Linked DNA regions of Homo sapiens: regions 1, 3, 4, 5, 6 and 7 are each linked to region 2. The links are contacts of gene promoters, found by promoter capture Hi-C in blood cells and fetal thymus (Javierre and others, 2016). All regions are on one chromosome and are shown on one strand. Each heading gives the region's core, a stretch centred on a gene start or on the middle of the fragment in contact. The rest is flanking DNA. Distances are from core to core; before and after follow the strand shown.

Region 1 (3,376 bases), core at 597-3,096, 650 kb after region 2:
AAATTTATGATATTTCTGAGTCTTTCCTGTTATTGTGTATACTTCATTCACTTTCAGCCATTGCATAATATTTTGATGTGTCAACATTTTTTAAAAACCTGTTTATCCGTTTTATCGTCAATAAATATTTGGGCTGTTTCTACTTTGGGACTTCAATTTCCTCATCTATAGAATATAATACTATCTACTTTATATGTTTTTATGGATTAAATAAGACAATATATGTCAACTGCTTGAAAATGTGTCTGACACATGATACATCCAATAAAAAGTTTGCTATGATTGTTGTATTATAGTTATGTATGGATGCCCTGCTCCTACTATACTGCTATTTAACTGAGTTTGAAGGTCATGTTCCTTCACTTTCTTATTCGCAGGACCTACTATAGTCACTCAGTGAATGATTATTAAATGTTGAAAATGAATGAAAAATTTAGGAGAAAATTAAATATTATCCTTATTTAACACACACATGCTAAGGAATTCCAACCAAAATCTCAACAGGGCTTCTGTGGAATTTGATAAAATAATTCTTAAATTTATATAACATAATGAAAGACCAAAAACAGATAAAATACTTCTAATGAGGAAACTGAAGAAAGTGGAGGGGTATACCCCATCAGACATCAAGAATAAATATAAAGCTACTGAAATTAAGAAAACGTAGTATTTATATAGAGATATAAACGTTGAAAAAAAATAACAGAAAAGAGAGCCTGAAAGAGGTTTCTGCATTTGATGAACTATGATAGTTGTTGGAGATGGCATTAAAAATCAGCCAGTGGGAAAATTGGGGGCTAATTAATAAATGGTGCTGGGGCAATTAATTATCAGTATGAAAAAAATAACATTGGATCCCTACATCACACCATAAACAAAAATCAAAGGCATAAATATATGAAACAATTCTCTAAAATTTTTAGAACTATAAATATAAAACTTAATATATGCTAAAATTAAACATTTCTATTAATCAAACGGCACTCCTTAAAAGGGAAATTATGTTGGTAAACTAGGAGAAATTATTTGCAATCCATACAGGCATACCTTTTTTTATTGTGTTTCACTATATTGTGCTTTGCAGATACTGCTTTTATTTTTAAAAATTGAAGGTCTGTGGCAATGCTGCATCCAGAAAGTCTACCAGCGCCATTTTTCCAGCAGCATGGGCTCACCTTGTGTTCTTCTGTCACATTTTGGTAATTCACACAGTGGTTCAAACTTTTAAATTATTATTATTTCTGTTATGGTAATCTGTGATCAGTGACAGTTGTTGTTACTATTGCAATGGTGCCACAGACTGAGCCCATATAAGAAGGTGAACTTAATTGATAAATGTTGTGTGTATTCTAACAGCTCCATCAGCTGGCTTTCCCCATCTCCTGCCCTCTCCTCAGGCCTCCCTATTCTCTGAGACATAATAATATTGAAAGTAGGCCAATTCATAACCCTACAAATGGCCTCTAAGTGCTCAAGTGAAAGGAAGAGTCATCTCTCATTTTAAATCAAAAGCTAGAAATAATTAAGCTTATTGAGGAAGGCATGTCAAATGATGAGAGAGCCTAAAGCTAGGCCTCTTATGGCAAAAAATTAGCCAAGTTCTGAATGCAAAGAAAAAGTTCTTGAAGAAATTAAAAATGCTACTCCAGTGAACATTTAAATGATAACAAAGTAAGACAACCCTATTGCTGATATGGAGAAAGTGTGAGTAGTCTAGGTAGACCAGACCACAACAAACCAGCTACAACATTCTCTTAGGCCAAAGCCTAATCCAGAACACAGCTTTAACTCTCTTCAATCTTTTGAAGACTGAGAGGAGCTGCAGAAAAAAAGCTGCAGCTAGACTGAAGCTAGCAGAGGTTGGTTCATGAGATTTATGGAAAGAAGTCGTTTCTAGAAAGTACAATTACAAATGAGGCAGCAAGCGCTTTGCAGAAGCTGCAGCAGGTTATCCGGAAGATCTAGCTAAGATCACTGATGAATGTGGCTATGTGAAACAACACACTCGGAAGATCTAGCTAAGATCACTGATGAGATCACTGATGAATGTGGCTATGCGAAACAACACATTTTCAGTGTAGGTGAACCAGGCTTCTTTTGGAAGAAGATGTCATCCAGGACTTTCACAGTTAGAGAGAAGAAGTCAACATCTGCTTCAAAGCTTCAAAAGACAGGCTGACTCTCCTGTTAGAGGCCAATGTATCCAGTGACTTTCAGTTGAAGCCAGTGATTATTTACTATTCTGAAAATCCTAGAATGCTTAAAAATTATATTAAAACTACTCTGTCTGTGCTTTATAAATGGAAAAACAAAGCCAGGTGACAGCATATCTGTTTACAGCATGGTTTACAGAATATTTTAATCCCGCTTTTGAGAGTAACTGCTCAGAAAAAAATATTTCTTTCAAAATATTAACACTCATTAATAAGGCACCTAATCACCCAAGAGTTCTGATGGAGATATACAAGAATATGAATGTTGTTTCTACACCTGCTAAAACAACATCCATTCTGCAGTCCATGTATCAAGTAGTAATCTCAACTTTCAAGTCCTACAATCTCAGAAACACATTTTATAAAGGCTATAGCTGCCACAGACAGTAATTCTTCTAATGGATTCGGTCAGGCAAAGTGAATTGAAATCCTGGAAAGGATTCACTGTTCTGAATGCCATTAAAAACAGCTGTGATTCATGGGAGGAGGTCAGAATATCAACATTAACAGGAATTTGGAAGAAGCTGATTCCAGCCACTATGGATGACTTTGAAGGGTTCAAGACTTCAGTAGAAAAAGGAACTGCAGATGTGATGGAAATAGCAAGAGAACTAGAATTATAAGTGGAGCCTGAAAACGTCACTGAATTGCTGCAATCTCATGATCAAACTTGAATGGATGAAGAGTTGCTTCTTATGGAGGAACAAAGAACATGGTTCCTTGAGGTGAAATGTACTTCTGGAGAAGATGTTCTGAACATTGTTGAAAAGACAACAAAGGATTTAGAATATTAAATGAACTTAGTTGATAAGGCAACAGCAGGGTTGCTGAGGATTGACTCCAATTTTGAAAGTTCTATGGTGGCTAAAGTGCTGTCAAACAGCATCACATGCTACAGAGAAATCTTTTATGAAAGTAAGAGTTGGCCGGGCGCGGTGGCTCATGCCTGTAATCCCAGCACTTTGGGAGGCCGAGGTGAGTGGATCATCTCAGGTCAGGAGTTCGAGACCAGCCTGGCCAACATGGTGAAACCCCATCTCTGCTAAAAAAAAAAAAAAAAAAAAAAAAAAAAAAAGACTACAAAAAATTAGCTGAGTGTGGTGGCATGCGCCTGTAATCCCAACTACTCAGGAGGCTGAGGCAGGAGAATTGCTCGGACCCAG
Region 2 (3,234 bases), core at 321-2,820:
TGGCTGGGCTGGAGCGTGCTGCGTTACCTGAGAGGTCCTCGCGAGCGTTCTGGTGCAAGTAGCTCTGCTCCAGCGAGTAGGAGGACATGCTGGAGTGCAGGCCTGCCGAGGCGGCGGGGTTGCTGCTGGGCGTCAGGGCAGGCGGCTGCTTGAGGTAAGGCGAGGCGCCAGGCGAGCTCCAGTGCGCCGCAGGGCTCGTGTAGGGCGAGTGGCATTCGATGGCGCTCGCCATGGCCGGGGACGAGGGTACCGGGCTGCTGCTGCTGTCCGGCCCGTAGTCGCCGCCGCCGCCGCCCCCGGCCGCACCGACGCCCCCGGGTCCCGCGGGCACCGGGCAGCTGGCCATGTAGGTGGAACCCGGGTTGGGCGACATGTGCGGGACGTGGTGGTGGTGGTGGTGGTGAGGGTGCGCGTGGCTGGGGGCGCCCGCGCCGGCGTCGTAGCCCGCGGGCATCATGTCGAGGCCGCCGTAGCCGCCCTGGCTGTGGCAGCCGAGCGGCGCCGACGGGGGCGCCTGGAAGTCGAAGCCCTGGGGCAGCAGCGACGCCCCGAAGCCCAAGCCGCTCACCACGCGGTGGTACATGGGCTTGAGCGCCTGGCACTTCCGCCTGAAGCCGCGCGGCCGGCGGCGGAACGAGCCCTCCTCGAACATGAACTCGCTGGCCGGGTCGATGGTCCAGTAGTGGCCCTTGCCGGGCCGCCCGAGGCCCTTAGGCAGCTTGATGAAGCACTCGTTGAGCGAGAGATTGTGGCGCACCGAGTTCTTCCAGCCCTGGTAGGCGCCGCGGAAGAAGGGGAAGCGCGCCTGCAGGAACTGGTAGATCTCGCTGAGCGTCAGGCGCTTGCTGGGCGAGCTCTGGATGGCCATGACGATGAGCGCGATGTACGAGTAGGGCGGCTTCTCGGGCCGCCGCAGCCCCGAGCTCGCCTTCTTGGCGCCCCCGCTCCCGGCGCCCGCGCCGCCGCCGCCCGCGCTCTTGCAGGCAGCCGAGGGGGCGCTGGCCGAATTGGAGGAGGACGAGGACGAGGCGCAGGAGGCGGAGGACGACGACGAGGAGGAGGAGGTGGTCTCCGGGGCGGCGGCGGCGGCGGCGGCGGCGGCGGGCGGCGGGCTCATCAGGGCGGCCTGGAGCGCGCCGGGGACCGGGCTGCACGCGCGGCGGAGCGGGGCCGGCGGCGGCCCGCCCTCGGTGGTCATCTGGGACCCGGGAGCGAGGCCGGGCCGCGAGGGCGGGCCCCGGGCGGGAAGCGGAGGCGCCGGAGCGGGGTCGGCCCAGAAGCCCTGCGAGCGCCCTAGCCCGCCGCCCGGGCTGCAGCCGTGGCCACTCCGGGCCAGCGCTTCGGCGTCGCCTCCCTCAGCTCCTCTGGGGCTTCTGGCGGCGGCGGCGGCGGCGGGCGGGAGGCAACGCCCGGCGCATCCCTCCCCGAGCCGCGGGCCCTGCCTTGCGCAACGGCCTCCCAGGCCGCGGGGCCGAGCGGCCGGCGCCGGGCGACTGCGCCCGCGAGTGGGACCGCGGCCTGGACCCCGGGGACGAGCCCGACGTCTCCCTTCAGGAGCGCTCCTCGCTCTGTCTCTCGGACTTCCTCCCTCCCTCGCCCTCCCCGGCCGCCCTCCTCGCTCCCTCCCTCCCTCCCTCCCCCCCCACCCCGCCCTGCCCCCTCCTCGCTCCGCGCCGCCGCGCTCACTCCTCCCCCTCCCGACCTGGCGGCCGCCTCCCTCTCTTATCTCGCTCCCCGCTCTCCAGGGTCTCCTCGCTCTTCATTCCTCTCGCGGCCTCCTCCCCTTTCCCTCACTCACCCTCTTTCCAATTGAGGGATCACAGACTCACTCCGGTTCTGCCAGGGGGACGACCCCCACCCCTCGCAAAACTCGACCACCTCTGACTTCATGAAATATTCTTTCTGTTTGCCCCCCGCAGCAAGCCCCGCGTCCCATCCCAGGACCCAGCCCCGCCCCTCCGCGCCCCCTTCCTCCTCCTGGCCCGCCGGGCCGAGTGGTGCTGCTGCGGGTGCGGCTGCTCGGAGCCTCCCTGGCCGCCCTCCCCAGGGCCGATACTGACTCCATCTGTCAACTTCGTTTAGACTTTGCCGCCCTCAGCCACACGCCGGGGTGCCAGACGCCCAAAGGTAACGTGCCAATCCTCTCTCTTTCTGGCAGGGCCTGCAGGCTCCCCGACAATTGTTAGGGCGACTGGGGGCCGCCGCAGGGTTGCGGGCCGCTGGCGATCGTGGACGTTTTCGGAACTTTGAGCAGAGGGATTTACACTGAGAAACCTAGGCCAAGTTTCAAAGACTCTGGAAACCTGGATCTCATGGGACTTAGGGTTGCATTTGCTTCCACTTCTTCCCCCCACCCCCGCACCCCAGTTAGTGTTCTGTAAGAAAAAAGTGCAAAAGAAAAAGGAAGGAAGGAAGAAAAGAAAGAAAGAGAAAGAAAAAGAAAGACCCTGAGATAAGCGAGATGGCTATATTTATAGTCAGTCCTGAAGGGGTGTGCAGCTGTCACTAGGTTTACATCCTCCGTCTTAACATTGCCCACCCAAAACTGTGCCAGGTCTCAGCTAACTCCTGTCCGAGAACACTTCTCCCCAGTTGTGGCTAATTCCTCCCTAAGTAAGAGTCAGGCTCTGAGAGAGATGTGCCCTCGGGAGCAATCACTTCCAATGAGACCCGACAGTTAGTTATTGGATTACACGTGCAGGGAAATGTAGTCCGACCAGGGATAGGAGCTGGGAGAGGGAGGAGGAGAGCAGGAGGCCGGAGCTGGCGGGGCCTCCCAAGGGCTGAAGGGGGAGGCCCAGAAAGAAGGTGCTGCAGACCAGCGGACCAAACAGGAGGTAGAGCTGGGCACCCCGCTGCGTCTAGGCTGAAAGGACCGAGGTGCACGGGTGTGCCTGCTGGGGAGCCTGGGGAGTTGCAGGAGGCAGGAGAAAGGGAGGTTGTGCAGTAATCAGGAGGAAGACACCAGGCAAAGAGCCTTCACAGCCGCACAGCCTAGGCAGGCCCCCTGGGGCGGCAGGAGCCCTGTGTGCCCCTGGAGTGCCGGGGGACTGCTCCTGGCTGAGTGTGCTGGTGGGGCTGTAGATGCAGAGAGGGCGGGTGGGGAGGGGAGGGGTATGTGGGAGGGGGGTGGGCCGGGGCTGGCCCCAGACAGTGACCTGAGGTTGAGTGGAAGCAGGCTTTTTCCATCAAACCCTGCCTGGATACCACACACAGAGACCGAGTGTCAGTTTA
Region 3 (3,368 bases), core at 222-2,721, 750 kb after region 2:
ATTTTTGTTTCATTTCTAGAGAGTTTTTTTGAAACATCAATTCATTAATTGTTGGTGAAGAACTTTTGGCTTTAATTTTTTTCAAATTCTTTTTACTTATGTTATTGGTTTCCACTGTTTATTTTTTTCCTATTTCTGTCATTCTGCTTCCTTTTCCTGCCCTCCTTCCCCTTTACTTTGAGTTTATTTAGCCCTTATTTTTCTAGTTTTTTTTTTAAAAGGTGGAAACATAGATTCTTAATTTTAAATATTTTTTCTCTAAGATTTTAAGTTACTGCTTTGGTGGCATTCCACAAATTTTGATAAATGTTTCTTATCATTCATTTCAAAATATTTTGTTTCCCTCTTAATTTCTACTTTGAATGTTGGGTTATTTAGAAGTGTATTAATTTCCAAATACCTGGATACTTTTCTGGATATTGTGTTTCTATTGCTAACGAAGATTCCTTTGTAATCTTCGGAATTTCGGTCTTTGGAATTGCCTGTGACTTACTTTATGGCCCAGCATATCGTCTATCTTGGTGAACATTCCATGAGCACCTGAAAAGGAGTTTTATAAATGTCAGGTCAGGATGACCAACAGTGCTGTTCATATCTTCTATGTTTTTTGTTTGTTTTTTAATATCTAGTTATTAATATTGAAAGGGAATATTAAAACCTCAAACTATGATTGTGTATTTATCTCTCCCTATCAATCAGTTTTTGTTTAATGGGTTTTGAAGCTCTTGTATTAGGTGTATACAGTTTTGATTGTTATGTCTTTCTGATGAATTTGTCCTTTCATCATTATAAACTCTCCTACCAAATTGCTTTGTGGTATCACTTCCCCTTCAGATTGAAGAACTTCTTTCAGCATTTCTTGTCATACAGATTTGTTTGCAATGAACTTTTTTTTTTTTACTTGAAAAATGCCTTTTACAACTTTAATTTCAGACTTTTTTTCTTCCAGTACTTTAAAGAACTATATATCTTTAGATAAATCTATTTCTATAACTATATTGATCTATAATCATGTTCACTGACTGTTTCTTCAAATATCTTCTACCTACTGTGCAGCCTAATCAGTGTATTTTTCATTTCAGACAGTATACCTTTCAGTTCTAGAATTTGCATTGCATTTCTTTTTAAAAAATAATTTTATAATTTTAATTCCTCTATTTAGAACAACCATCTGTTTATTCATTATGATTACATATATTTTAATAACATTTGTTATAGACTCTTTTAAGTTCTTATCTACTAATTCTTCTGTCTGGTTCATCTTGGGGTCCATTTCGGTTATCTGCTTATTTGCTTATAAAGAGATAGGAAAAAATCCAAGTGTTTTTCCTACTTTCTATGTTCACACAGCCACTAACTCAGTACACACTCCTGATACCAGGTGTGTGTGAAGTTTTCCCCACACACCAAGCAAGCAGCTCTCCAGCGGACACCAGCTAGATGTCCTCTAATTCAGTTCAGTCCTGACATGAGCATGTCAGATCCCACAGCTTGAGAAGTGGGGATATAAAATTGATTAAAGATGTGTTTTCAAAGAAGAAACAAATAAAATATCTAAAATTTAACACAGTGAATATTAACATTATGTAGTAGAAGTTTAATAGAAGGAGGGATCAGGGAGACTAAAATAACATTTGAGCATGACTTGAAATATTGGTAAAGATTTAATAAACTTGGAAATTTCTCTTTGGTGCAAAGAGGTTGAATTACATGAATACAAGCATGTGGCAGGTTCGTAAGAGGTGAATGGGCTCATGTGGGGAATGTCAGAGGAGAGGAGTGGTGGAGATGAAGTAGGCAGTGTGGACGGGTCTAGCTGTGACAGGCTTTGAACGGGATGTGGAGGAGGTTGTGGGCTGTGCAGACCACAAAACAGTGGATTTCATAGAAGATTATTTTAAAGGTAGGGATAATATTGATTAGCTCCATATTTTAGAGAACTAACTGGCATTTGCTGAGGGTGGATTGCAGTGGAGAGAAAATGGGGCAGAGTTACCAGTTATACGTCTGTTGCAGCATTGAGGGGAGAAGACGAAGGTCTTAAGTGGGAGAGCAACAGGAGGAAACAGTAGGATTGAGAGGAATAGTTGATTTTTGATTCAGACAAAAGATACTGATTATTTGATTCAGGGGGTGCCAGAGGGAAGGAGAGGAACTCAAGGTAACCTTGAGTTGTCTCATTGGGTTTATTGGATGAATGATAATGTTTTTCTGGACTTCCTTTTTTGTTGTTTTGCCATTTTATTTGTATTAAATAAGTTACGTAGGCATGATTGATTAAGTCGTGTTGGACTGAACCTAATCTGCAGCCCCGCCTCTCCACAGGAGGTTGGTTTGCTGGTGCTTTGCTCAAAACCCTAACCCTCTAATCCCATGGTCTTTCTGGAATGGCCAGTCCTGCTGTTGAGTCATCTTGGCCTATACTAGGGCGTGGTTTGAGAGGATCATGAATAACAAAGACCCTCCTATTGCCGGAAAACACCAAGGATTTAAGACTCGCTCCCAGAAACCAGGGACAGAGGTCAAATACTCTATTATACAACATACCCCAGACTCATTCCACTCTCTCCTGCCATCCACTGCAACATTTCCAGATTCTTCTAATCTGCCATTTCTTGGTGGTCCGTTTTAGACATTAGCTGTCAGCCTCCCATTATGTGAGAGAAAAGATGGTCACTCCCTGGTTTACCTGTCTTGCCTGCCCCCAAACACACATCCGCCTTTTGTGCCTTATTTCAATTTTGTTTAAACCGGTGGTCAGTTACTACATTATTATGACTGTATAAGTCATGTGTCTTTGGACCTTTTTGAAAATTTCAAGAGCTTTTATTCTTGGATTCATTTATTTTCATGGCATCTAGTTCTTTTAGGGGTAAAAAATTTCTCTCGATATTAATTTGGTATCAAACTTTAGAATGATTTCGAAGTTTTTTTTTTTCTGTACCTGCTGTTAGTAGTTTGGTAGGGCTGTTATAACAAAGTATACTAGACCGAGTGGCTTAAACAACATACATTTATTTTCTCACCCTTTTGGAAGCTAGAAGTCTGAGATGAGGGAGTCAGTGGGGTTGGTTTCTTTTGAGGGCCGTGAGGAATGATCTGTTTTAGGCCTCTCTCCTTGGCTTGTAGACAGCGTCTTCTCATGAGTCTTCGTATGTCCTTCCCTCTGTGTGTGTCTCTGTCCAAATTCTTCCAATAAGGACACCAGTCATACTGGATTAGGACCCACCCATGTGACCTCGTTTCACCTTTATTACCTCTTTAAAGGCCCCCTTTCTGAATACAGCCACATTCTGGGGTACTGGGGCTGGGTTTAACATATGAAATTTGGCAGTGGCGGAGTGAGGTGGGTGGGCATAATTCAGGCC
Region 4 (3,438 bases), core at 516-3,015, 710 kb after region 2:
TGGTCCGAGTGTGTGGTCTCCCGCTCAGCCGAGAGGCTGCTAACAGGGTGGATGAGAGAGAGAGCAACACTGTTTACTTTAATTTATTTCGGATGCCGGAATTGTGCCCAGAGTTTCTCCTGAGCTTGATTCCATAGCTAGCAGCTTCAATCCTTCGCAGCTGCGGTGCGTTCTGAACTCTGGGCTGTCCTTTCCTGACAGGCACTTTCCATAGCATCTGCCTGCTTAATCCCTCACGGCTCAGAAATGTTAACGGCACTGTTGAGTGCTGTGATTATTTTGCTTTCACTATGTCAAGATTTATGGCCTTCGAGAAGCTTCTTTTGAGATAGAGCTAGAGAAGGAAAGCAGAATTTGTAAGATCAGTGACAAAGTTGATGTATTTTTGGAAATTGGAAAAGCTATTATACAAAATTTGGGTCAAATTAATCCAACTTTGCTCATATAAAAGAACCTGGGAGTTAGCGACATCCTGTCATGTTTAACAGTTTTAATGAAATTAACCAATTTAAGCTGACGGTTGGTTTCTTGACCTTTTCTGAAACTCTGCATTGATTTTGGCATGCCTGTTTACCATAGTTATTATATTTGTCAGCGGTGATATTGGTTTATTTCATCCTAAAGATTTGACAAGTCGAGACAAATGAAACTTTGTTTTTATGTAGTAGTATAAATTTAGGAGAATATCTTTTTATCCAATCCTTTCATTATGAATAGCTTAGTAATATTTTCTTGATTTTGTTCCTCTCTCATTCCTGAACATTATTGTTGAGATGGTCAAGTATTTTGTTATTTGAATAAACATATGTAGACTCTTGATATCACTTGGGATTTTGCATTGTTTAGCTTCTTTATTTTCATGTCTTCCTGGCAGTCTTGCTGGAATGGAGTTGGTGGTGTTGATGTTTGTCAAGGATTAGAAAGTCTAGGCCACTCACATCTTCCCGCAAGGTCAGTCTGTTTAGCTTGGAGTTGTTCTGCTGCTTTATTTGCTACTCTTCACCCTGGGTTTCAGTACCTGAGCTCTGTTTCCATCACTGCGAGGGTAAAGCTTTCTCCTACCCTCCTGGTACCTTTTCACTCCTCGCCCTGGTGTACCTTTGCCTCAACTGATCTGGAATCAGACTTCAGGAATTTAGTCATGTTGGGCACTTTTTAAAAAATGATACCATCCTGTATTTCTTTTTGTGTTCAGTTTTTTGGGGTTCTGTGTTTATGGTGCTAATGATGTTAAACTAATGCTCAGAGGAATTCTGAAGCACAGTTATTCACAAAGTTGTACAACCATCACCATTATCTAAGTCCAGAACAGTTTCATCACACCCGGAGAAAACCCTGAATCCATTATCAATCCTTTCCCACTTTCTGCATCCATGGATTTACTTATTCTGAACTTTCATATAAGTGGAATCATATATGTGGCCTTTTATGTCAATTATGACATAATATATGCATAATATTGTTAGTCATTACTGTATGACTTTTACCTAGGAAGTGAAAATTCTTTGGAGAGAGAGAGAGAGGAAAAAATACTGATAAATGATGGTTATAGTTAAGTAATCATGTGTGGAAATGAACTTGTATTTTAGAAACTCGGGGCCGGGCGCGGTGGCTCACACCTGTAATCCCAGCACTTTGAGAGGCCAAGGCGGGCAGATCACGAGGTCAGGAGATCTAGACCATCCTGGCTAACACAGAGAAACCCTGTCTCTACTAAAAATACAAAAAAATTAGCCGGGCGTGGTAGTGGTTGCCTGTAGTCCCAGCTATTCGGGAGGCTGAGGCAGGAGAATGGCATGAACCCGGAAGGCAGAGCTTGCAGTGACCCCAGATCCTGCCACTGCACTCCAGCATGGGTGACAGAGCGAGACTCCGTCTCAAAAAAAAAAAAAAAAAAGAAACTGGGAAATATTTAATAGGAACTGCGGAATGGTCAAGGCTTGTGTTGGATAGAAGTGCCCTATGTGTGACTGGCTGTTAGTCACCAGCACTTTTCTGCAGTGCTGTGTCATGCAGGTTCCTGTTCCCAGCCCTTCTGGAGTTTCACCAATGCCGGTGCTAATTGGTTGTTTAAAATTCGATGTAGAACTCTAAATGAATAAATCCTGACTGAACAGATTCCCTCCATTTCTACCTTAGCTTTTACTGGGCAAAATCCTCCAGGAGTTAGCAGTGAGCAGGAAAAGGACCAGGGTTTTGCTCTCTGGTAACTAAAGGGGGAATTATCCTCCAGAGCAGTTGATTCTCTTGCAAGGGCAGAGAAGCAAAGTATCTGTAGAACCACAGTACCTTGACAGCACTTTAAAAACCCTATTTCCAAGTGCATTTCTGTGAAAACAAGGTTATCTTTAAGAAAAAGATTACTACCTTTATTTGCACTTTTCATTAGAACTGAAAAGTTAGAATTGTTTTATATATTCTCAGTACTATCCCATTCTCTTTTATGGCTGGATTTTTTAAATGGAAAAATCAAGCTTAAATGAGTTTTGGCCTAGTTTTTATAGGACTAAAGGATAGTTGAAAAACAAGTTTCTCTGGTAACTTTCATTATAAATATCTTAGTAATATTTTAAAATTTATTAGGGGCAAAACTCATTTTGGTTTAAACATTTAAAATACTTCTTTGGTGGGGGGAGAAAGGAGACACAGCATTAAAGATCTGCACCTACAAATTAGAATTTCTGGTTTTCGTGTAATTCTGTGTGGAAGCAGTAATAGAATATCAAACTTTTCACCTCTTGGACCTTTCAGTTAAAGGTCAGATTTGAACTGGACCTCTTGTCACCCAGAGGTGACCGATAGAAAAGGAGTTGTTCTGCTTAGATGTTTGGTTAATTTGGATTTATCTGATTGTTTTCCTTAGCATGAATTGTATTGAAGATCAGGAGGAGCTGTCACAGGTTGATTGTGACCTTTTAGGATGTAATTAGGGCACTCAGGTTTTATAGTGGTTTTGGCAGTTGCTCTTGTGACCAGATTTATTGGTTTAAAAGACAGTGCATGGCACACAGTACAGAATCAAGGAATGGCATCTGTCCTGTGAAACAAATCTAGCTGACACCCCTCTCAGAAGCCGCATCTTATAGCTTCTTATGGCAGGAATTTCACACAGCCTTTTGAGGTCTCTGCTGCTGTTGTTGAGGAGATGAAAGAAGAGCCCGTGCATCCCCAGATCTGGTCAGCCCGGCCACCGTTTCACTGAGTGTCTGGCACTGGACTAGACACTAGAGTGAAGAAAGAATATGATGACAAGCCCAGGCAAGCCCACTGAAGATTGCTGGCAGAGAGCTTGGCACAGTAACTTTTTTTCATCCCTTTTTCTTTAATGTAAAGGATACTATCATTTGTTATAATCACTTTCTTAAGATAGTTAATTTACAGGAGAAATGAGCACCACCCCCAGCCCAAAAAAATGCATATAACTCAGAGCTGCCAAGA
Region 5 (3,439 bases), core at 137-2,636, 840 kb after region 2:
ACTTATGTTTTCACTTAGGTTTTTATATACTGTCTGGAACAGTTGAGCACCAAGCCTGATGCAGATATAGATACTACACAGTAAGTAAAAATTAAATTAATCTCATTAATGCATTTAAGAGAATTAAAAATACAGGCTCAAGTTTTATGCTTGGTCTTATATCCTAAGACTTCTAGTAAGAAAGAAAGATTGTTCATATCGAAGTAATAGTTTTTTTTTATATTCGACCTATATTCTTTCCATAGTTTATCTTTTCAACTCATCTTTGCCTTATTAGAGACAAATCAAGCAAATTGAAGACATGATTAGCTTATTAATTATCCAAAGAACAGGTTTTATAAATAATAAAGTGTTAAATGTAAATATGTAACTCCTAGTTGATGATTTTTACAATTCTGGTGTTAGGGGGAGGCACCATTGCTCTTGCTAGAGACTAAGCATGTTGGTAGAATTATGTCAAGCTTAGTTATTGGAGCTCCAGTGGACACATGTTAGCTCTTGATGTTTACAAATCCATATGGTAATTCTTTTATAATGCTGTTGTATAGGACAGCATTGTAAAGTGCTGGTTTTTTTTTTAAGAAATCCGTTCTTTCTGAATTATACTTGGCATGTGTAACTTCTGTGTACTTTATGCTCTGACACAGATAATACTGAAATAAATGCCTCTTATATCTTCAGTTGACAACTTGGGAATTTATCCATGTTTGTCTATTTACTGGTTTTGGCTTTTGCTTTTCAGTATATAAAACTATCACCTCCCTAGAGACCCAATAAGTTTTTAATTCTCCTAGGTTTTCTTTGATTTGATTTCATATTTTTAGCTCATTATTTCACCAGGAATTGGTTGTTAGTCAGATCCCTCATATTATGGATTAAATGTCATGTTGCCCATGTTAACAGATTATCCATAGTACCTTCTTCGAGCTGTTAACTGTTAAGTCTAAAACACTTATTAAAAGTTTCTGGCCGGACATGGTGGTTCATGCCTGTAATTCCAGCACTTTGGGAGGCCGAGGCAGGCGGATCACGAGGTCAGGAGTTTGAGACCAGCCTGGCCAACATGGTGAAACCCTGTCTCTACTAAAAATATAAAAATTAGCCAGGCATGGTGGCGGGCGCCTGTAATCCCAGCTACTCAGGAGGCTGAGGCAGAAGAATGGGTTGAACCCAGGAGGAGGAGGTTGCAGTGAGCCAAGAACGCACCATTTGCACTCCAGCCTGGGGGACAAGAGCAAGACTTCATCTCAAAAAAAAAAAAGTTATGTGACTTTCACCAAATGTTTTCCATATAATTCATTGCACGTTTAAATTTGCGTATAGTTCATTGCATTTTTGAATTTGAGTGCTTTATTTGTAACTGTTCCTACTTGCTTCTATGTTCAGTCTCTCTGTTGATGTTTCTTCCCCTGACTTGTTTGGAAGTATCCATGAAGACTTCAGCTTGACCTCAGTAAGTCAGACGATAACTAGAAAGTAAACCATTTTAAAACTGTGTAACAACAATTTCGCAAATCTAATGACTGTGTTCCTGCATCCTTGCTATAGCACGTGGTATAGGACACTGTGCTGTGCTTTGGAGCTCTATTATGTGAAATTTTCAGGAAAGTATAATTTATATGAATTTCACAATTAACACTTTTAGCTGGAGTTGCAGTGTCAGTCATTCCATATACTGTCTGCATCTGTGTGGTTTCCGAGTGTTAAATGGGTGCCCTTATAGTTCCTGGTGCTTGAGAGTTGCCAGGGTGGGTTGGGGAGCAGGCAGAGGACAAGGATGCCCACCCCCTCACGGCTCCTGCCTCTTCAACCAGAGTAGTTCTGCTTTTCTCTGTTTTATTTCTATAAGTTCCATCGTAGCCTTTTATTTGAGCACAGCCTCAAATAGATACACACACACACACACACACACACACTTATACACAAACAGATGTATGCATACACTGCATATATACATATGTATATATACACACACACTTTTTAAAATGTATACATGTATTTAAGGAGATTCACAAACATATATTATCATGTGTATAAATTCATCTGTTGAAACTCAAACTCTAGCTATCATAAATAAAATAACCCTTTCTGGCCAGGCACGGTTGTCATGCCTGTCATCCCAGCACTTTAGGAGGCCGAGGCAAGTGGATCACTTGAGATCAGGAATTCCAGACCAGCCTGGCCAACAGGGCAAAACCTCGTCTGTACCAAAAGTACAAAAATTAGTCTGGTGTGGTGTCGGGTGCCTGTAATCCCAGCTACTCGGGAGGCTGAGGCAGGAGAATCGCTTCAGCCCAAGAGGAGAAGCTTGCAGTGAGCCAAGATGGCTCCACTGTGCTCCAGCCTGGGTGACAGAGTGAGACTCCATCTCAGAAAAATAATAATAATAAATAACCCTCTCTGGTTTGTCATGAGTTTGAAGGGGGGGTGTGTGTGTGTGTGTGTGGTCTGTGTCTGTCTCAAGGTAAAACTGTTTGACCCAAATGTTCTACTATATATGTAAGTATGAATACCTAAATAAGGGATTTGGTATATTAGAAAAAATATAGTTTGGTCAAAGTAATTTAAAAAATTATTCTAGATTCAATTCCTTGGATGACTAGGTAGAGAATGATACCATTCACTGAGACAGAAATTCAGGGAAAACACAGGCTCACGAGAACCTGGGTTTTTTTTTGTTGTTGTTGAATGGGTGACATACAGGTAGAGATATCCAGTGGGTGATTGAATGTCCTTGTTTAGATCCCAGGAGAGAAATCTAGATACAGATTTGTGAATCAGCAGTATATAAGCAATATATAAGGCCTGGGAGTAGATAAGAACACCAAGAATTCTGGCTGAACAAAAGAAAAATGCTGGTTCTTCTGTTCACCCAGAATTGCAGGTGGAGTCGCCCCAAGAGTGGTGGCGGGCCATCCCGAGCCACCCCAAAATGAGGTCAGCTGGCCTTCCAAAGCAAGAAGCATGAAATGCAGGGTCATCAGTGCAAAGCATTAGGGAACGACACACAGAGGGGGCGGCACTTGGTCCTCACAAGGAAAAGCAGGGAGCGACGTCCTGCCTAGGTATGTCGGCAGTGAGGGGGCCTGGGTGTGGACTTCATGGGAGGGTTTAAAGCATTTGCCTCAGGGCGGGGCTGATTTCTGCTATTTAGCAACGTGGTTGATCTCTGTGTTTTCTGCTATAGCTTAAAGAGCTTCATCGGTGCCTGGGAGGTCATGGTCCCCACTTGGGTGCAAGCCTGCAGGGGAAGGCAGTCAGCTGGCCCAGTCAGAGCCGCCAAGGCACTCTGTGCTCCTCCAACAGGGCGCGGAGAGAAAGCGAGGGAAGCTGGGGAACCCTACCCTCACTGAATGAGAGAAGGGCCAAATATATAAAAATAATGTTGAGGGTGCCAGTATTTATGGGCTCACCAGTAGCAGAGAGCCTCAGTTTGCCC
Region 6 (3,118 bases), core at 555-3,054, 630 kb after region 2:
CTTCCCCTCTTAGAGAGGCTGAGTCAATGCCCCAACTCCTCCATAAACTTCTCCCTTCTTACTATATCCCATAATACTCTTCCTCCCCTGAACTCCTTTTGCCCTTGTTGTCAGCCCAGTCTCCATTCCCTCAGTCATGATAGTGGATGCCGTTCAATGCTCACCCTTATGCCCTCGGTCCTCAGCTTCCAGGACCTGTGGAGAGCATCCATCTACAAGAACCTGCTGTGCTCCCTCTGAAGGCTTCTCATGATCTGCACAGCAGAGGCCAGAAGGGCTAAGGAGTTAACGCTCCCAGAAGCAGCTCTCAGGCAATGAAGGGGGAGAGAGCTGGAAGATGACTAGCCCATCTCCCTCACCCTCAGGCAGACTAACACCAGCTTCCGTTCCATACCATTTCCCAGTATGGCCCGTTGCCCCCAGTGCCAGTGAGCCTTGGCTGGCTTCCTTCCTTTCCCTGTCTCACTTCTGTCACTCTCCTTCCTACCCATGCTTCCTGGGTCATTCTTATTCAACTAGTAGTCCTCAGATTCTTGCCTCAGTGTCTCCTTCTTGGAAATCTGTATTAATTAGGGTTCTCCAGAGAATCAGAACCCAGGTGGGAGACGTGTGGGGAGATGATAAGAAATTGTCTCACATAATTGTAGAAGCCACGGCAGCTGCAAAGCTGGAGGCCCAACAGAGCCAGTGGTGTGGGTTCAGTTTGAGTCCGAAGGCCTGAGAACCAGGAGAGCCGATGGCATAAAAAGACGGCAGGAAAAGAACCATGTCCCAGCTCAAGAAGTCAGGGAGAGAGAACAAATTCCCCCTCCTCTGCGTTTTTGTTCTGTTCAGGGCCTCCTCAGATTGGATGGTGCTCACCCACTTAAGGGAGGGCCATCCGTTTTACACAGTCTACCAGTTTAAATGCCCATCTCATCCAAAACACCCTCACAGAAACACCCAGGATAAAGGTTAGCCAAATATCTGAACTAACCTGGTCTGGTCAAGATGACACGAAATTAATCATCACAGAACAACTAAGACAATCATACCTCATCCTCCCTACCCTCCCTAGAGTTCTGGACAATGCAAATGCCCCCATCTCATTGTGCCATATCCCCAGTGCCTGGTACACACACAGTAGGTGCTTAACAGATGTTGGAGGTTCGTCAGAACTGACTATATTTGCATGTATATTTTCCTCTCTGTTCTAATGCCAGTGTTGTAATTTGTTAGTTCAACACCCAGTCTGCTAAAGCAGGAGTGGTTGCTGCAAACTTTGTAACTGATGGTTCAGGCAGGTACCAGCCTTGTCATAACCACGCAGTAATTACACACGAAAGTATGTTTCCCTGTGCTTTACAAAGCATAAAGCTATTTGTTTTGGTTTCATCCCATCACTTCATTAAGCAGCAGAAGAGTTAGGTTATATACTGAACCAATTTTGTACTAAGCTTTGTTTACTTTCTGTTCAATGAACATGCTAATTCATTGTCATAAAATTCATAGTTTACATGAAAATCCATTGTCCCCTATTCTACCAAATGTTAACGATTCAAAATGTGCAGCAAATGGTTCCATTTAAAGAGCAACACGAGTGAGTATCGAGAACAGCCATGGAGCCCCGGAATAGGCGTCTCTTCCCCCTTTCTCCCCTCCCTGCCTCATACGCCCATCTTTCTTCCGTCTCCATCCGCAAAGAGAAGCTCATAAAAGAGAGAAATGTTTCCATCAGGCACAGCAGTGCAGAAGCTGCATACTGTTTGCATTTGCACAGTATCGTTTTTGTTATCTCCCCACGTCGTTTATAACAGTTTTGCAGTTGTGTGTGGGCGTATAGGTAAAAATTTCTCGAGTATTTTGAATTCTATAAAATCCAGAAGAAACTTTGCCAAATGTATTCCCATCTTGCTTTTTAAACTCACATACATTTAAAGGGATATTCAATACTTTTGTTTTTGACTTGGTTACTCATAGGCCATTAAAGGGTTGTCTTTTAAAAGCTATTTGCTATTCCAGGAGACTTGGGAGCCCATTTTACGATCCTTTCTAAGTCCTTTTTCTCGGAACGGGAAGTTGCATCTTGCCAAGAGTAGGCACACTGAGCAGTGCGGTAGGGCCGGGCTCTGTGAACGGCTGAGAGCTGCATCCCTCTCCTCCTGTGTGTGGATCTCACAGGGTGAAAGCTTGATCAAGACAATTACAGTGAGAAAGCAACGTGAGAAAAATCAGGAGCTTAAATGCCAGCCAAGAACCGGGCTTTCCTCTGGGTCTGAAACTAGACTGGGGAAGACGTGCCTTTCTCAAAATCCAGAGAGCTGCCCCTCCGGGCAGTGCCATCACCTTTCCGAGCTCCGTGCACCAGCTCCCGAGTCCTGCAGCGTGTGGCCGGCCGCGGCCATCGGCTTTCCTCACTCTCGTCATTTCACTTGTCATCAGCAGAAAAGGCAGAAGGAGCAGCTCTCCTTCCCCGCGTGGGGGGTACCCATCCCGGCCAGAGACACAGAGAGCTGGCCTTTCCTTCTCTTCTTACCGCTTCGCATCTGTCAGCCGAGGCCTGGGCTTAAGGGAAATGCACGGCCACGCTGGGCGGGTTTCTCGGAGCTGCCCTAACACGCTAGCACGGCCCGGGTGGCCTCCGACCACAGGCACATTCTCTCAGGCTTCTGGAAGCTGGAAGTCCAAAGTCACCGCGCCGAAAGGGCCGCCTGCCCCCTGCAGCCTAGGGAAGAATTCTCCCTCGCCGCTTCTCGTGGTGTTGCCAGCATTGCTTGATGCTTCCTGCTTTGCAGATGCGTTACTGCAACCTGCTCCGCCCCCCGGGTTCAAGCGATTCTCCGGCCTCAGCCTCCCCAGCAGCTGGGACCACAGGCGCCCCCCACCACGCCCGGCTCATTTTTTGTATTTTTAGTAGAGACGGGGTTTCACCGTGTTAGCCAGGATGGTCTCGATCTCCTGACCTCGTGATCCGCCCGCCTCGGCCTCCCAAAGTGCTGGGACGACAGGCGTGAGCCGCCGCGCCCGGCCCCCAACAGGTAATTTCTTATCCCCAACATTGCCTTTAATATCCATACTTCTACCAAGTGTCTTCTAGGCTTTTAAAAGCATGTACCTCAAGTTTCTTCCAGTCACTTCC
Region 7 (2,956 bases), core at 437-2,936, 820 kb after region 2:
GAATAAACGTTCTCATGGGAGTCCACCTGCCCCTGAAGTTGCTGAGTAGGAGTTAGAGCCTGATCCGCGGCGTCATTGTGCTGAGGACTGGACGGGGTGGACTCTGCAGTGCCCCTGCCATGGCCACCGAGTGGAGTGCGGGGCGGGAGGCAGGTGGGAGGCAGCAGGGCGAAGGCATGGCCCTGGGAGTGAAAAGAAAGAAGGGAGACAGAGGACATGGTGAGTGGGTCCTGAATTTCTACACTTGCTTTATTCCCATGAACCTGTTCTTCCCACAAGAAGTCTAAGCCCTTATTTCCCAGTTACAGCAATAGCTATGTTAAATGATGTATAGCCAAAGAGGTTTCAACGTTTCTAGTTTTTCTTAAATTTCTTTATTTTAGGTGGGGTTATTTAGTATGTGATTGCACTAGAATGTTTCCTTGTGATAACTGGATTCCTTCCTGCATTCTCACTTCCCAGGGTGTATGATGGCATTTCTCACAGGCTGATCAGCTGCAATTTCACAACTGGCTGCACAGCAGCCCCTGCCTTTGCTGTTAGAAGGCGGGACTTTTTGAAGAGACGTTTACTATCCAGAGGACAAGGCTGATAAGTCAAAGCCACCTCCTCTCGGTAGCCCTCCCAGTACTGAGGCTGTGGCCACCTGGTCCCTTGCCCTGGCTTGCTGGTCAGCCATGAGGGAGAGGGGCTCTTCCTTGCCAGAGGGCAAGGAGAAATGCGGGGGTGTCTGGTGACGAGCGTACCGCTGCCGGTGTCAGCCAGGTGGGCCGCGAGCGTCCACGCAGACTCAGGCTATTCCTAGTGCATGTTGGAGTTTTGCGGGAGTGGAGGGGGGTGCGCCAATATGCTCAAAGGTGTTTTCTTGATTCAGAAGTACAATCATAGTATTTTATTCTTTTCCCCCTTAGCGTGGAGATACAAAACTCCCCACAGGGTGGCCTTTGTTGAAAAATTGACAAAACTCGTCTTGAGCCAGCTGCCTAACTTCTGGAAACTCTGGATCTCCTACGTTAATGGAAGCCTCTTCAGTGAGGTGTGTATACGGACTCGGCTAGAGGTGGAGCTGAGTCACCGTGCATTTCTGGTCTTTAAAATGTTAGATTTAAGTGATTTTTTAAAATGTAGAGGCCCAACATCTCTAGCCATCGTCATAGTTTAAAATCAGTTAAAGCATTATAAAGCCCTCTCACTTAGTAGCTGTGTGACCTCGAACAAGTCACTTTTCCTCATGTACAAAAAGAATAGTCTGGGCACCTGTCTCAAAAGGTGGTTGTAGGGATTAAATGAGATAGGCAATTAAAGAAAAAAGAAAGCTCGAACTCTTTTCAGGGACTCCGAATTGAGATATTGCCAGTCAGGCCAAATTCTGGGTGATGTGCGGTAGACTGTGAACAAATGAGGAAACAAGGATAGCACCTTGGCAGCCGGCACCCGGAACAAAGTCATCCATAGAGTATGCAATTTCCCTTGGAAAGGATGTAAACATTCTGCAGTCTAGCCCCATTGTTATCAGCTTACAGAAGTTTTTATGAGCCCGTCCACCTTCTGCAGTCACACATTTATTAATGCTTTAGTATCTTCATCATCATATGACTGATAGCATAGAAGGCATGAACATAAAGGAATGACTCTGTTATGTGTGGCACATGGAAGTCAGTCACTTTCTAACCTCACCTCAAGTGCGCCATGAAAGGCCTCCGGCTCCTGGACATAGATTCTAACGCCCTTTGTCCTAGGCTGCCAAGGGCACCCCCGTGGGAGACTGAGAAGACAGGTGTTTCGTGTCTCTGCAGGAGACCGACTCTACACCAAGAGCTCTGGGGGAGATAGGGGTCTTCTGAGAGTAAAGGCTACTTTCTGCTTCTTTTTGACTTGGCAACACACAAAATGGACATGGGCAAAGGCTAAAACCATTTTTGGTTTTTTGCACAAAGGCACAGCCTTTGTGGTTTAAACCTCTCCTCCTTGGCGGAAAGTGGCTAAGTGTCAGAGTACCTCAGGTGTCTTTGGAGTCTCATTTGGCCATGACCATAAATTCATGCTGATATTAAGGAAATAGAGATGTGCTCTGGAACTTTTTTCTTTGTATATTTGAACTCCAAGTGCCTAGTATCTCCGTTGTAAACCCGCTGGATTCCTGCAGCCTTGTTTATGTGAATGGTTGGTTTTCTAACCTATAAAATTTACTATGTGCATAAAAACAGAAATGTGTAATGCATGAACACAAACTCCTTAGTGCAGAAAAACCAATCGTGTAAGCACAACTTATCAATGCATTTTTTCTTTAGTTTCAGTTATCAGTTACTTTATAAGTGAACATTCAAATATTAAAGCAATACACAACTTTCTTTTCTTTGTTAGTTATGTATGAACTCTATTGAAAAGTTGACTATACAGAGGAAGTTCTTCCATGAAACGAACGTCAGGTTTCGCAGGTCTACATAATGAGAGTTGCTTATTGCTGGCTTAGGAAGTGAATAATTTCAGTTTTGTCCTGATAAGTCTTTCCAGTACTCTGCTTCTGTGTGTCACCATCAGTTTGTGTCTCTGTGATCTCAGCTGGGTGAGCTGTGGGGCTCACCATGCTGAGGTCAAGCCTTGGGTCCCCCTTGCCCTCTGCACAGTGACAGTAGTGGCACCGCAGGCACCAGCTTCCTCTCTGTGTCTGCTCTGTCCCTAAACCAAATTGTTCGTGTGGGCAGGAAAGATTAGATGCTCCCCTGTCATGCCTTTGGACAGATGGCATTCATAGGTTTTCACGCAGAACACTAGGAGCATAATAGAAACATCCAGTGTCTATCACTTCCTAGCCGTGACCTTAGGCAAATTACTTCTCTGCACCTGCTTCCATAGGACTGGTTTGAGAATTCAATGAGTTAGCATGAGTGAAGTGCTGATAATAATGTCTGACAGATAAGTAAGAGTTTGCTGTTATTATTTGGAGTAAAATTTA

The links. Contacts are between HindIII fragments. The CHiCAGO score rates a contact against its expected background, and 5 or more counts as called.
Region 1: a contact is called between a fragment that was not itself captured here and the fragment with the promoter of FOXF2 in region 2, in 2 of 17 cell types (endothelial precursors and M0 macrophages). The highest score is 7.0, in endothelial precursors.
Region 3: a contact is called between a fragment that was not itself captured here and the fragment with the promoter of FOXF2 in region 2, in 2 of 17 cell types (activated CD4 T cells and total B cells). The highest score is 6.3, in activated CD4 T cells.
Region 4: a contact is called between a fragment that was not itself captured here and the fragment with the promoter of FOXF2 in region 2, in 4 of 17 cell types (naive B cells, total B cells, naive CD4 T cells and 1 more). The highest score is 7.7, in naive B cells.
Region 5: a contact is called between a fragment that was not itself captured here and the fragment with the promoter of FOXF2 in region 2, in 2 of 17 cell types (total B cells and total CD4 T cells). The highest score is 6.0, in total B cells.
Region 6: a fragment that was not itself captured here is called in contact with the fragment with the promoter of FOXF2 in region 2 in 3 of 17 cell types (endothelial precursors, non-activated CD4 T cells and M2 macrophages); the score reaches 6.6 in endothelial precursors.
Region 7: a fragment that was not itself captured here is called in contact with the fragment with the promoter of FOXF2 in region 2 in 6 of 17 cell types (naive B cells, activated CD4 T cells, megakaryocytes and 3 more); the score reaches 7.1 in naive B cells.

The regions. Positions count from the first base shown.
Region 1 is chr6:740,221-743,596 of GRCh38, reverse strand. All of the region lies in intron 1 of LOC105374873 (a long non-coding RNA gene), which reads left to right. Among named protein-coding and RNA genes, the nearest start is that of EXOC2, 49 kb to the right of the region's middle. The HindIII fragment of the contact is 634 bases long and covers 1,530-2,163 here.
Region 2 is chr6:1,387,912-1,391,145 of GRCh38, reverse strand. FOXF2 (forkhead box F2) reads right to left here and starts at 1,570. Exons shown (of 2, transcript NM_001452.2): 1 at 28-1,570. The coding sequence starts at 1,198. It overlaps FOXF2-DT (FOXF2 divergent transcript), which reads left to right and starts at 1,685. Exons shown (of 3, transcript NR_187218.1): 1 at 1,685-2,127. MIR6720 (microRNA 6720) reads left to right here and starts at 735; the gene lies at 735-832. RefSeq lists an enhancer at 1-388. The HindIII fragment of the contact is 4,023 bases long and covers 1-3,234 here.
Region 3 is chr6:640,458-643,825 of GRCh38, reverse strand. All of the region lies in intron 1 of EXOC2 (exocyst complex component 2), which reads left to right. Among named protein-coding and RNA genes, the nearest start is that of HUS1B, 15 kb to the left of the region's middle. The HindIII fragment of the contact is 5,163 bases long and covers 1-3,368 here.
Region 4 is chr6:680,659-684,096 of GRCh38, reverse strand. The region is part of intron 1 of EXOC2 (exocyst complex component 2); the gene reads left to right. Among named protein-coding and RNA genes, the nearest start is that of EXOC2, 11 kb to the left of the region's middle. RefSeq lists an enhancer at 67-146. The HindIII fragment of the contact is 1,423 bases long and covers 1,054-2,476 here.
Region 5 is chr6:551,868-555,306 of GRCh38, reverse strand. EXOC2 (exocyst complex component 2) reads left to right here. Exons shown (of 28, transcript NM_018303.6): 20 at 19-80; 21 at 1,387-1,453. Among named protein-coding and RNA genes, the nearest start is that of HUS1B, 100 kb to the left of the region's middle. RefSeq lists an enhancer at 2,577-3,398. The HindIII fragment of the contact is 1,846 bases long and covers 464-2,309 here.
Region 6 is chr6:760,740-763,857 of GRCh38, reverse strand. No RefSeq gene overlaps it. Among named protein-coding and RNA genes, the nearest start is that of EXOC2, 69 kb to the right of the region's middle. The HindIII fragment of the contact is 732 bases long and covers 1,439-2,170 here.
Region 7 is chr6:570,600-573,555 of GRCh38, reverse strand. EXOC2 (exocyst complex component 2) reads left to right here. Exons shown (of 28, transcript NM_018303.6): 13 at 912-1,036. Among named protein-coding and RNA genes, the nearest start is that of HUS1B, 85 kb to the left of the region's middle. The HindIII fragment of the contact is 4,243 bases long and covers 1-2,956 here.